Linked DNA regions of Homo sapiens: region 1 is linked to region 2. The links are contacts of gene promoters, found by promoter capture Hi-C in blood cells and fetal thymus (Javierre and others, 2016). All regions are on one chromosome and are shown on one strand. Each heading gives the region's core, a stretch centred on a gene start or on the middle of the fragment in contact. The rest is flanking DNA. Distances are from core to core; before and after follow the strand shown. Region 1 overlaps GET3 (guided entry of tail-anchored proteins factor 3, ATPase). Region 2 holds the start of HOOK2 (hook microtubule tethering protein 2).

Region 1 (6,095 bases), core at 1,297-3,796, 35 kb before region 2:
CAAGGCCCCTGCTGATTCGGGTCACCTGCTCCAGGGAACCTACCACTCCCCTTGCAGACCCAGGGAACAGAGCCCATCCCCTCATCCCCTATCTTTTGACTTTTCCATTACTCAGCTGCAGCCTGGCAGTCCAGCTCTCCAAGGGGCGTGAGAGTGTTCTGATCATCTCCACAGACCCAGCACACAACATCTCAGATGCTTTTGACCAGAAGTTCTCAAAGGTGCCTACCAAGGTCAAAGGCTATGACAACCTCTTTGCTATGGTGAGTGGAACAGGGCTTAGCCCCCACTTCTGGGAAAAGCCTCTTCCAGCCTTTCTTGTGCGCACACACCAGCAGCCACCGTGTCCTATCCACTCTATATCCTGTGTCTCTCGTGTTTCACTCCTTCCTCAACATACTCACAAGGGAACCAATGAGGAATTGCAGAGCAGGAAGCACACCAGAGTGCCTGAAGCTTAGTGAGCCAGGGTAGGGGAAGGAGAAGTTGGAGAGACCAATCAGAGCCACATGGTGTGGGACCTTATGGGCCACTAAGAAGTTTGGCATTGACTCCAGGTTATTAACGGGAAGCTGTTTGTTTTAAGCAGGGCAATGTCGTGGCCAAATTCATGTTTGAAAAGTACCCTTTGACGGCCAGGTGGAGATTTAATTGTCAGTCAGGGTAGAAGCAGGGAAACTAACAAGGAGATTGGGGGTGTAACCAGTTGAGAGATGACAACATCCTGGACTCTGGTGGAGGCAGAATGTTGGGGGAGAAGTAGTCAGACTTGAGGTTTTTTTTTTTTTTAGACACTCAAGACTCCTCTGTCTCCCAGGCTGGAGTGCAGTAACCCGATCTAGGCTGACTGCAACCTCCGCCTCCCAGGTTCAAGCAATGCTCCTGCCTCAGCCTCCCGAGTAGCTGGCACTACAGGCTTGCGCCACCACTGCCTGTTAATTTTGTTTTTTTTAGGAGACAGGTTTTCACCATATTGGCCAGGCTGGTCTCAAACTCCTGACCTCAAGTGATCTGACTGCCTCGGCCTCCCACAGTGCTGGGATTACAGGCATGAGCCACCACATCGCACCAGGGATGTATTTTGGAAGTAAACCAGTAAGATTACTTGGGTGAGAAAAAGAAATGAATTGATTACATGTCTTTCTTGTCTCTCTGAGCAGCTGGGATGGGGAAAACTAGGAAAGGAGTAGGTTTAGAATGAACAAATAAAGAATTTCATTTTGTCCACAGTGAATCTGAGTTGCCCACTGGAAATCCAAGTGTAAACATCATGACAGTAGCTTGTTTATGTGAGTCTGGAGCCCAGAGGAGGTTGGCATTGATTTGGAAGTCACTGTCTCAAGGGTGGCATTTAAAGCTGTGTGAGGGCTGGGCATGGTGGCTCATTCCTGTAATCCTAGCACTTTGAGAAGCCAAGGTGGGCGGATCACTTGAGGTCAAGAGTTTGAGACCAGCCTGGCCAACATGGTGAAACCCCATCACTACTAAAAATATAAACCAATTAGCTGGGCATGGTGGCAGGTGCCTGTAATACCAGCTACTCAGAAGGCTAAGGTAGGAGAATCGCTAGAACCCAGGAAGCAGAGATTCTCCTGCCTCAGCCTCCGGAGTTGCTGGGATTACAGGTGCCTACCACCATGCCCGGCTAATTTTTGTATTTTTAGTAGAGACGAGGTTTTCTCACGTCTCAAAAAAAAAAAAAATTGGCTGGGCGCAGTGGCTCACTCCTGTCATCCCAGCACTGTGGGAGACCGAGGCGGGTGGATCACAAGGTCAGGAGATCAAGACCCTCCTGGCTAACACGGTGAAAGCCCATCTCTACTAAAAATACAAAAAATAGCTGGGCATGGTGGCAGGCGCCTTTAGTCCCAGCTGCTCAGGAGGCTGAGGCAGGAGAGTGGCGTGAACCCCGGAGGCGGAGCTTGCAGTGAGCTGAGATCGCGCCACTGCACTCCAGCCTGGGCGACAGAGCAACACTCTGTCTCAAAAAAATAATAAAGGCCGGGCACGGTGGCTCACATCTGTAATCTCAGCACTTTGGGAGGCTGAGGCGGGCAGATCACAAGGTCAAGAGACTGAGACCATCTTGGCTAACACGGTGAAACCTCATCTCTACTAAAAATACAAAAAAATTAGCCAGGTATGGTGGCGGGCACCTGTAGTCCCAGCTACTCCGGAGGCTGAGGCAGGAGAATGGCGTGAACGCGGGAAGTGGACCTTGCAGTGAGCCGAGATCGCGCCACTGCTTTACAGCCTGAACAACGGAGCGAGACTCAACAAAAAATAATAAATAAAAATAAAATAAAATAAAGAGATGCTGCAGAGTGAGGATGCTGGCAGAGGACAGTCCTCAGGTGGGATGAGCTCCATCCAGCATACAGACCCAGAACTTGGGCGCTGCCAGGGTCAGGGACTGGGAGGGAAACAGGAGGAATTGGGGCACTTCCCGGGCAGAGATGAGGGTGTTGGCAGCCAATGGCTTCTCTTTCTCACCAAGGAACAGGCAAGGGTCTCAGCAGTGAATGGGATAGAAGTTTGAGGAGGGAGAAAATACCACATAAACACTTATTAAGGTAGCAGGGGGAACCAGAATTGTCTGGATCATCAAGTGCCCATTGGAGATTTGTGTTCAGAAGAGGGGAGCAAGGGCGGGCGTGGTGGCTCATGCCTGTAATCCCAGCACTTCGGGAGGCTGAGGCAGGTGGATCAGAAGGTCAGGAGTTAAAGACCAGCCTAGCCAAGATGGTGGAACTCCATCTCTACTAAAAATACAAAAATTAGCTGGGCATGGTGGCTCACGCCTGTAATCCCAGCACTCTGGGAGGCCGAGGTGGGCGGATCACAAAGTCAGGAGATTGAGACCAGCCTGGCTAACAGGGTGAAACCCCATCTCTACTAAAAATACAAAAAGTTAGCCGGGCGTGATGGCGGGTGCCTTTAATCCCAGTTATTCGGGAGGCTGAGGCAGGAGAATGGCGTGAACGCGGGAGGTGGAGCTTACAGTGAGCCTAGATCGCGCCACTGCACTCCAGCGTGGGTGACAGAGCAAGACTCCATCTCAAAAAAAAAAATACAAAAATAAGCCAGGCACGGTGGCTCACGCCTGTAATCCCAGCACTTTGGGAGGCTGAGGCGGGCAGATCACCTGAGGTCGGGAGTTCGAGACCAGCCTGACCAATATGGTGAAACCCCGTCTCTACTAAAAATACAAAAATTAGCCTTGCGTGGTGGCCGGCACCTGTAGTCCCAGTTACACGGGAGGCTGAGGCAGGAGAATTGCTTGAACCTGGGAGACGGAGGTTGCAGTGAGCCGAGATCATGCCACTGCACTCCAGCCTGGGATACAGAGCGACACTCCATCTCAAAAAAAAAAAATTAGTTGGGCCTGGTGGTGGGCGCCTGTAATCCCAGATACTCGGGAGGCTGAGGCAAAGAATTGCTTGAACCTGGGAGGCGGAGGTCACAGTGAGTCGAGATTGTGCCACTGTACTCCAACCTGGATGACAGAGCGAGACTCCGTCTCCAAAAGGGTGAGGAGCAAGATGGGAATACTCTTCAGGAGTGTTCGGCCCTCAAGTGCAGTGATACTAAAGAGCTAGAAAGCCATACCTATCATTTCAGTGCTTGCAGAGACTGAGACAAGAGGATCACGTGAGGTCAGGAGTTCAAGACCAGCCTGGGCAACAAAGGGAGACCCTTTCTCTACAAAAAACAAACAAAATTAGCTGGGCATGGTGGTGTGTGCCTATAGTCCCAGTAAGTTGGTAGGTTGAGGCAGGAGGATCATTTGAGCCTAAGAGTTTGAGGCTGCAATGAGCTATGTATGAGATGGTATCTTTTTTTTTTTTTTTTTTGAGACTGAGTTTCACTCTGTCACCCAGGCTGGAGTGCAGTGGTGTGATCTCAGCTCACTGCAACCTCTACCTCCTGAGTTTAAGCGATTCTCCTGCCTCAGCCTCCCAAGTAGCTGTGATTACAGGCGCCCGCCACCACATCCGGCTAATTTTTGTTTTGGGGGGGTTTTTTTTGTTTGTTTTGAGACGGAGTCTTATTCTGTCGCCCAGGATGGAGTGCAGTGGCGCAATCTCGGTTCACTGCAACCTCTTCCTCCCGATTTCAAGTGATTCTCCTGCCTCAGCCTCCCGAGTAGCTGGGACTCCAGGTGCATGCCACCATGCCCGGCTAATTTTTAGTATTTTTAGTAGAGACGGGGTTTCACCATGTTAACCAGGATGGTCTCGATCTCCTGACCTCGTGATCCACCCGCCTTGGCCTCCCAAAGTGCTGGGATTACAGGCGTGAGCCACCGCGCCTGGCCTGTATTTTTTTTTAGTAGAGACGGGGTTTCAACATGTTGGCCAGGCTGTTTTCAATCTCCTGACCTCAAATGATCTGCCTGGCTTGGCTTCCTAATACACTGGGATTACAAGTGTGAGCTACCGCGCCCGGCCAAGACGCTATCTCTAAAAGAAAGAAAAAAAAAGCTGGAAGTAACCAGAGTGGGGGATTTTGCCAACAGCAAGGGGAAAGGGAGTGTTTGCAGAGGGAACCTGTGGAGGCTGGGCTGGATAAGGGTGCCAGCCAAGAGGAACACTGACAGTTTACAGGGGCCAGGTGAGGGGATGAAGTAGTCCAAAGAAGCTTAAAATATATGAAGCATAAGAAGAGGGTGCAGTGATGAGTGGGCAAGCTCCCCAACAGGGAATGACCCCTAAGGCCAGCGAGTTGGGTACTTCCCCATGGGACCCATGAAGTTACCAAGAAGAGGTGACAGAGGAGGAAGATAAAGAGGGAGGCATTGGCCGGGCATGGTGGCTCATACCTGTAATCCCAGCATTTTGGGAGGCTGAGGTGGGTGGATCACCTGAGGTTGGGAGTTGAAAACCAGCCTGACCAACATAGAGAAGCCCCGTCTCTACTAAAAATACAAAATTAGCTGGGGTGGTGGCGCATGCCTGTAATCCCAGCTACTCAGGAAGCTGAGGCAGGAGAATCACTTGAACCCTGGAGGCGGAGGTTGCAGTGAGCCAAGATCACGCCATTGTCCAGCCTAGACAACAAGAGTGAAACTCCATCTCAGAAAAAAAAAAAATTACAAAAATTAGCCAGGCATGGCCAGGCGTGATGGCTCGTGCCTGTAATCCCAGCACTTTGGGAGGCCGAGGTGGGTGGATCACGAGGTCAGGAGATCGCCACCATCCTGGCTAACACAGTGAAACCCCGTCTCTACTAAAAATACAAAAAATTAGCCAGGTGTGGTGGCGGGCGCCTGTAGTCCCAGCTACTCACTGCACTCCAGCCTGGGTGACAGAGCGAGACTCCATCTCTTTTTTTTTTTTTTTTTTTTTTTTGAGATGGAGTCTCGCTCTGTCGCCCAGGCTGGAGTGCAGTGGCGTGATCTCAGCTCACTGCAGGCTCCGCCCCCTGGGGTTCATGCCATTCTCCTGCCTCAGCCTCCCAAGTAGCTGGGACTACAGGCACCCGCCACCTCGCCCGGCTAATTTTTTGTATTTTTAGTAGAGACGGGGTTTCACCGTGTTAGCCAGGATGGTCTCGATCTCCTAACCTCAGGTGATCTGCCTGCCTCGGCCTCCCAAAGTGCTGGGATTACAGGCGTGAGCCACCACGCCCGGCCAAGACTCCATCTCAAAAAAAAAAAAAAAAAAAAAAATTAGCCAGGCATGGTGGGGCATGCCTATAGTCTCAGCTACTCGGGAGGCTGAGGCAGGAGAATTGCTTGAACCCAGAAGGTGGAGGTTGTGATGAGCTGAGATCGCGCCACTGCACTCCAGCCTAGGCAACAAGATCAAAACTCCATCTCGGGAAAAAAAAAAAAAAAAGAGGGAGGCATTGAGTCTGAGACTGGCCAGGGACCCCAGCCATGGCCATCCCTTCATAGATTCTACATACATGTTTGTGTTTTGTTTTGTTGTTTGTTTTTTGAGACAGAGTCTCCCTCTGTCACCCAGGCTGGAGTGTAATGGCGTGATCTCGGCTCACTGTAACCTCTGCCTCCCGGGTTCAAGCGATTCCCCTGCCTCAACCTCCAGAGTAGCTGGGATTATAGGCACCCGCCACTATGCATGGCTAATTTT
Region 2 (6,614 bases), core at 4,115-6,614:
TGGGTTCAAGGTGAAGGGGTCATGAAAGTTGAGGGTTAGGGGTCAATCAGGGCCTGGAGCTGTTGAGAGTCATTACAGCAATGGTTAGCCCAGGGTTATAATCAGGTATCCCCTGGGGTGGAATTGTGGGGACACAGAGGGTGGGGTTATAGGGGGAGTGATGGGGAGCCTAGAGAGGTCTGAGCATCTGCCAAGGATACCTTGGAGTCATTGGGGGAGGTATGGGACAAGAGGACTGCGGGGTCCTTAGAAGTGCAATTGGGGGGTGCACTAGTACCTTCGCATTACAGAGATGCTATAGGGGCCCAGTGGAGCCCTTTGTGGTTACAGAAGGCACAGTAGAGTCAAAAGGGGGTGCAAAGTAATTGCATTGTGGAGTCCTAGAAGGTACCATGGGATCCAGGGGCATTATGAAGCCCAAACTGTGCAGTGGGATCTGCAGAGCATTGTAGGGGAGGTTCTTGTGTTTTGGGGGGCCACAGGGATGCTATGGGGTCTTGGAAGCATACTGTGGGATAAGGGGGGGGCAGTGTGGGGTCCAGGGGATATGGTGGAATTCAGGATAGTGCAATGTGGCCTTGGGCGTTCTGTAGGGCTCAGGGTGGCACTGTGGAGTCCAGGGGGCATATTGGGGGTTCACTGGGCACATGAAAATTACAGAGCTGCTATGGCATCAGAGGGGAACTCTGGAAACAGGTTTACCCCCCGCCCCCCGTGATGGGGACCCAGGAACCCACCACTCACCGTAGTTCATCCATCTCATCCTTCAGGGCCTGTGCCTCCTGGGCCAGGCTAGTCAGCGCCTGGTTCCGGTGCTGCAGCTCCGCAACCTCCCTCTCCAGCTCGGCACAGCGCAGGCGCTCATCCTCCCTGCCACTCTCCAGCCTGGGGGTGTTGGGGGAAGAGCACATGAGGGGGCTGCCCTCCCCCGGTCCCCTGGCTTGCCTGGCCCAGTCCCCAGCTGACCACACCTGAAGTTCTCCTCCTGCAACTGCTCCAGCTGGGATTGCAGCAGCAGCAGCTTCTTGGCAGTGAGACCTGGGGTACCCTCGCCTTCAGGCCGGCCCATCCGCTCCCGCAGCCCTGCATTCTCTTGCGCCAGGCTCTGCTTCTCCTCTGACAGGAGCATCAGCTGCGGGCAGGGCAGAAAGATGAGCTTGGGCTTGGAGAGGGGCTACTCAAGTGACCCTGCCCCACCTAGGGCCCTACCTGCCGCTCCAGATCCAGACAGCGCTGCTGTAATTCGTCCCCCTCCTCAGCCTCCTCACTTAGGAAATAGTACCTGCGGGACTGCAGAGATGAGGGGGAAGAGGAACTCAGGGATTCAGGAGAAGGACGGGGGGAGGGAGGCTGAGATCTCTAGAGGCCAAATGGAGGGGGCCAAGAAACCCTCAGGATTGAAAAGAGGGCTGGCGCCGGGTGCAGTGGCTCGCGCCTATAATCCCAGCACTTTGGGAGGCTGAGGCGGGTGGGTTACCTGAGATCAGGAGTTCCAGACCAGCCTGCCCAACGTGGCGAACCCCTTCTCTACTAAAAACACAAAAATTAGCCGGGTGTGGTGGCGTGTGCCTGTAGTCCTGGCTACTCGGGAGGCTGAGGCAGGAGAATCGCTTGAACCCGGGAGGCGGAGGTTGCAGTGAGCCGAGATCGTGCCACTGCACTCCAGCCTGGGTGACAGAGTGAGACTCCATCTCAAAAAAAAAAAAAAAAAAGAAAAAGAAAAGAAAAGAAAACAGGGCTGGGGTTGGAGACTGAAGGAAGAGCGATTCCAGAACACTGGAGACCTGGTACAGGAAGTGGCTAGCACCCTGGAAGATGGGCGTGGCTTACAGGCTTAAGGACAAGCCCCTCCCCCTTAGGCTACCCTGAGCATCTGTAAGTGGGGTCTGGACCTTTAACAAGGTTAAGTCACAAGGTTAATCACAGCAAACTTATCCCCAACTCCCGGCCTTTGGATTTGCTGATCCCTGTGCCTGGAACACCTTTCCCCCAAATCTCTTACCTGGCTGTCAAAGTTGCCATACGTCTCTGGTGACAGGGAGTCAGGAGTGTCTTTGGTCATGAGCTGAGGAGTGGGAAGGGGCATTGTAATGAACTGGATATCTGAGGCCAGCCTTCAAAGTATCTACTATCCAACCTGAGAACCTCTCCATCCTCCCGTCAAGGCCAGTTCTGCCCAATAACCCCAGCCCAGAGGCTGCCCTCCTGCCTCCAACACAGAGGGAAGCCAGATCCCTTGAGCCTGCTAGATTGCGACTTAGAGCTGGGAGGAGCTGGCAGACACATGAGACAGAGATGTCTGGCCAGCTGAGTTCCAGGCAGAGTCCAGACCTTACCAGGGCAGGACCTGTGCCCAGTTCTCTCTGCCCTAGAGATGTCCCCTCTCCTGACATTTTCCAATTGCACACTGAGTGCCCCCACCCACCTCTTGGATGGCTTCCATCACCACATGCTGAACCGATTCTTCCAGCGTCATGATTCTCTGGATGTGGTCTGGGGATCAAGGTGGGGGAGGCTGAGACCCAGGGGTGAGGTGGGGAGGAAGGAGGATTTCCTCAGGCCAGCCCTGGGGACCCCCTAAGCTCCCCATACCCTGCTTTTTCTCGCAACTGATGGCACAGCCCAGCACCAGCTGAAGCAGCTTGCCGAGCTCTGCCGGGTCTGAGAACTCTCCAATGAGGCTCACATCTGGGAGATGCTCTTCTGACACAGGATGCGCCAGGACCTGGGGAGAAGGGGGTGTCAGGGGCTCATGGGCCCACCCTTCTCCCAACTCAACCCCCTGAATCCCTTTACAGTTACTCACATCCTGGGAGTACTCTACTAGGCTCCGTAAGACCATCTTCAGATTGCTGACCTAGGGAGGAACAAGGAACTGTGGACAAGTTCAGAGGCCTCCCACTCTGAATCTGTAGGTCCCATCCTCTCTCCACCTCACTTCTCCTTCCCTGCTCATCTCATCCTATTCTGTCTGCGTGCGCCTTCCTCTAGGGGTGACCTGTCTGGCTGTCTGCCCCTTTTGTCTGCCTGACCATCTTTGTTTCTTTTTTTTTTTTTTTTTTTTTTTGCTTTAGCTTTTTAAGACAGGGTCTGGCTCTGTCACCCAGGCTGGAGTGCAGTGGTGCAATCTTGGCTCACTGCAGCCTCGACCTCCTGGGGTCAAGCAATCCTCCTATCTCTGCCTCCCAGTAGCTGGGACTACAGGCATATGCCACCACAATCGACTACTTTTTTTTATTTGTAGAGAGGAGGTTTTGCTATGTAGCCCAGGCTGGTCTCAAGCTCCTGAGCTCAAGCAATCCTCCCACCTCAGCCTCTAAAATTGCTGGGATTACAGGCATGAGCCACTGTGCCCGGCCTGCCTGACCATCTTCCTTCATATGTCTCCAGAACCAAGTCACTTCTCACCACCTGCCCCACCATCCTTCAGCCCTACCCATCCATCTTTACCTCTCACCTGGATTAGTGCACCAGCTGCCTCTCCTCTTCCACTTTTGCTGCCTACATTTTATTTCTCTCCATGCAGCCAGGGGGAGCTTTATAAAGCCCAAGCCAGGTTGCATCTTTGCTCTGCTAAAACCCTGCCTTGACTTTCCACAGCACTTAAAAATAGAATCCACACCCCCACCATGGCCTGCCAGGCCCCTGATGACCTCATCTCCTACAAATCTTGCCCTCTTGCTCTGTTCTGCCCTCTCTGCCATTCCTCCATCACACCAAGTTTATTCCCAAATCACGGCCTTTACATCTGCTATTCCCTATGCCTGGAACACCGTTCCCCCAAATTTCACTTGGAGATTAACCCATCTGATGTAATCAGCCACCTATGCCCTCATTGCTCTCTCTCAAAGCCCTGCTTTTTTGTTGTCTTCACAGAACTACTGGCATCAAAAGTTTTTTCTTTTTCTTTTTCTTTTTCTTTTTTTCTTCTTCTTGAGACAAGAGTCTCGCTCTGTTGCCCAGGCTGGAGTGCAATGGCTCAATCTCAGCTCACTGCATCCTCCACCTCCCAGGTTCAAGTGATTCTCATGTCTCAGCCTCCCAAGTAACTGGGATTACAGGTGCACACCACCCCACCCAGCTAATTTTTGTATTTTTAGTAGAGATGGGGTTTCAACTTGTTGGCCAGGCTGGTCTTGAACTCCTGGCCCCAGGTGATCCACCCACTTTAGCCTCTCAAAGTGTTGGGATTACAGGCATGAGCCACTGCGCCCAGCCTGGAAGTTAATTTTTATGGTTGTGTATGTGTTGCTTGTCACTAGAATGATGGCTGTGTGGGGCAGGTTTTTGTCTGTGTTATTCCTTGCTGAATGCCCAGGCCTGGCACAGGGTGAGTACTCCATAGATGAATGGATGAACAAATGGTTGATCACCAGACATCTGTCCCTCTTCCTGCCCATCACCCAGGACATGTGCCTAGCTGGCCCGTCCCTGGTCATCTCTTCACCAGTCTGTCCTCTAATCAGGAGTCCACTTGTCACCTTCAGCTTCCAGTTGGGACCTGGATCTTCCGAGATGCCCTGGAGCCATGCCTCGTTGAACCAGGAGGGGTCTCTGGGGGCGAGAAGGTGGGATGAGCAGACTGGGGGACACTTTTGGGATCCTCCCCTTCAGCTCCACTCACATCTGGTTCAGCACATAGGCTACGGCAAGGCCGCTGCTCAGGTCCTGAGGGCTGGCACAGGGAGACGGAACGTGGAACGTCTGTAACTGAGGGGTAAAGGAAAGGACAAGGAAAGAGTTAGGGCCTGGGAGCGCCGAACCGCTCCCCTTTTGCAGACTTTTCCAGTCAGCGAACCTCACATGGTGGGGCGGGCGCTGCTCCGCCACAGCAGCTCTGCGAGGGACTGGCTTCTGCTCACCTGAGACCGGAGGGGGCGTGGCCTCACCTCACCTCTGCCCAACAAACCCTGCGCGTCCAGGCCAGGGTGGTATCGCGAGTCACCTGGGCCCCACAGGCACCACGTGACCAGGCCAATTCACCTGTGTCCTCGCCCCACGTGAACCAACCACAGAGGGGCGGGGCCTCACCTGTCCTTTCCACGCAGACTTGCCACGTGACGGGGGCGGGTGCTCGGGCCAGAGTCCAACGGTCCAGCAAGTCGACGACCCCGCACCTCCCAGCCCCAGCACCAAGAGACTGACCGAACCAGGGCCAGGGATCCCGGGCAAGAGGAGCGGGCGCTCACCTTCCCCTAGCCCCGCCCCACGACCTACCCAGGTGAGCAGAGACCCGCATAGCTCAGCTTTGTCCACGCTCATGGCTCCCGATCGGATTCAATCCAGGCCACGGAGCCCCGGCGCCGCAGCAGCCTCCGGGTCCGCCACCAGCGAGCGCCCGCAGCCCCGACCTCCCGCTCGGCCTAGAGCGCCGCCCCGCCCCGCCCCCCTAGGCGCAGGCCCCGCCCCGCCCCCAAGCCCAGGCTCCGCCTCGGAACGTAATCTCCTCCCTACGCCCGCTCTTGCCTCCAGCCCCGCCATCTTGGATCCGGGCACCGTTCGGGCGCCCGCCCTGCCGCTAGGGGTCAGCCTGGCCCAGCCTTGTGCATCCGAGGGTGGTCCCACCTCCCATCCTCGCCCTGGCCCTTTTTGGGGTGGGAGGTCCTCAAGATCCTTTTGAGACGGAGGTGCTCCACCCTGTTACACAAGCGCATTCACGTCTTTTCCCTGCAACTTAAGTAAATTCTTTTTTTTTTTTTTTTTTTTTTTGAGACGGAGTCTCGCTGTCGCCCAGGCTGGAGTGCAGTGGCGCAATCTCGGCTCACTGCAGGCTCCGCCCCCTGGGGTTCACGCCATTCTCCTGCCTCAGCCTCCCGAGTAGCTGGGACTACAGGCGCCCGCCACCTCGCCCGGCTAATTTTTTGTATTTTTAGTAGAGACGGGGTTTCACCGTGTTAGCCAGGATGGTCTCGATCTCCTGACCTCGTGATCCGCCCGCCTCGGCCTCCCAAAGTGCTGGGATTACAGGCGTGAGCCACCGCGCCCGGCCTTAAGTAAATTCTTGTGTCTAACCACTTTATAATCGGAGCCGTTGTGCGGGGAGGGGCGAGCCCTGGCACTTTCTATGGACTGGGAGAGGGGATGCTAAAGGGGTTTTCCCGCCGGACGCGGTGGCTCTCGACTGTAATCCCAGTATTTTGGGAGGCCTAGGAGGGAGAATTAATTTGGATAGAAGTTGGAGACCAGCCTCTCTTCAAAAAATTTAAAAATTACCCAGGTAGCGGTGGCTCACGCCTGTAATCCCAGCACTTTGGGAGGCCGAGGCGGGCGGATCACGAGGTCAGGTGTTCGAGACCAGCCTGGCCAACATGGTGAAACCCCGTCTCTACTAAAAATACTAAAAATTAGCTGGGCGTGGTGGCGCACGCCTGATTTCAGCTACTCGGGAGGCTGAGGCAGGAGAATCGCTTGAACCCTGGAGGCGGAGGTTGCAGTCAGCCGAGATCGTACCACTGCACTCCAGGGGGCAACAGTGCAAGACTCCTCAAAAAAAAAAAAAAAAAAATTAGCCAGACATGTTGGCGTGTTTCTGTGGTCCTAGCTCCTAGCTCTACAGAGGCTGAGGTGGGAGGATAGCTTGAGCCCAGGAGGTCGAGACTGCAGTGAGCCGTGAT

The links. The method cuts DNA at HindIII sites, captures the fragments that hold promoters and counts their contacts. A CHiCAGO score of 5 or more calls a contact.
Region 1: a fragment that was not itself captured here is called in contact with the fragment with the promoter of HOOK2 in region 2 in 1 of 17 cell types (erythroblasts); the score reaches 8.9 in erythroblasts.

Annotation. Positions count from the first base shown.
Region 1 is chr19:12,738,396-12,744,490 of GRCh38, forward strand. GET3 (guided entry of tail-anchored proteins factor 3, ATPase) reads left to right here. Exons shown (of 7, transcript NM_004317.4): 2 at 116-263. Among named protein-coding and RNA genes, the nearest start is that of GET3, 3.9 kb to the left of the region's middle. The HindIII fragment of the contact is 4,185 bases long and covers 455-4,639 here.
Region 2 is chr19:12,770,188-12,776,801 of GRCh38, forward strand. HOOK2 (hook microtubule tethering protein 2) reads right to left here and starts at 5,365. Exons shown (of 23, transcript NM_013312.3): 1 at 5,218-5,365; 2 at 4,625-4,710; 3 at 4,482-4,554; 4 at 2,807-2,857; 5 at 2,593-2,725; 6 at 2,426-2,493; 7 at 2,003-2,065; 8 at 1,210-1,290; 9 at 972-1,132; 10 at 745-885. The coding sequence starts at 5,262. RefSeq lists enhancers at 755-1,255, 1,256-1,756, 4,287-4,967, 4,968-5,646, a cis regulatory region at 5,183-5,824 and a silencer at 5,209-5,428. The HindIII fragment of the contact is 30,934 bases long and covers 1-6,614 here.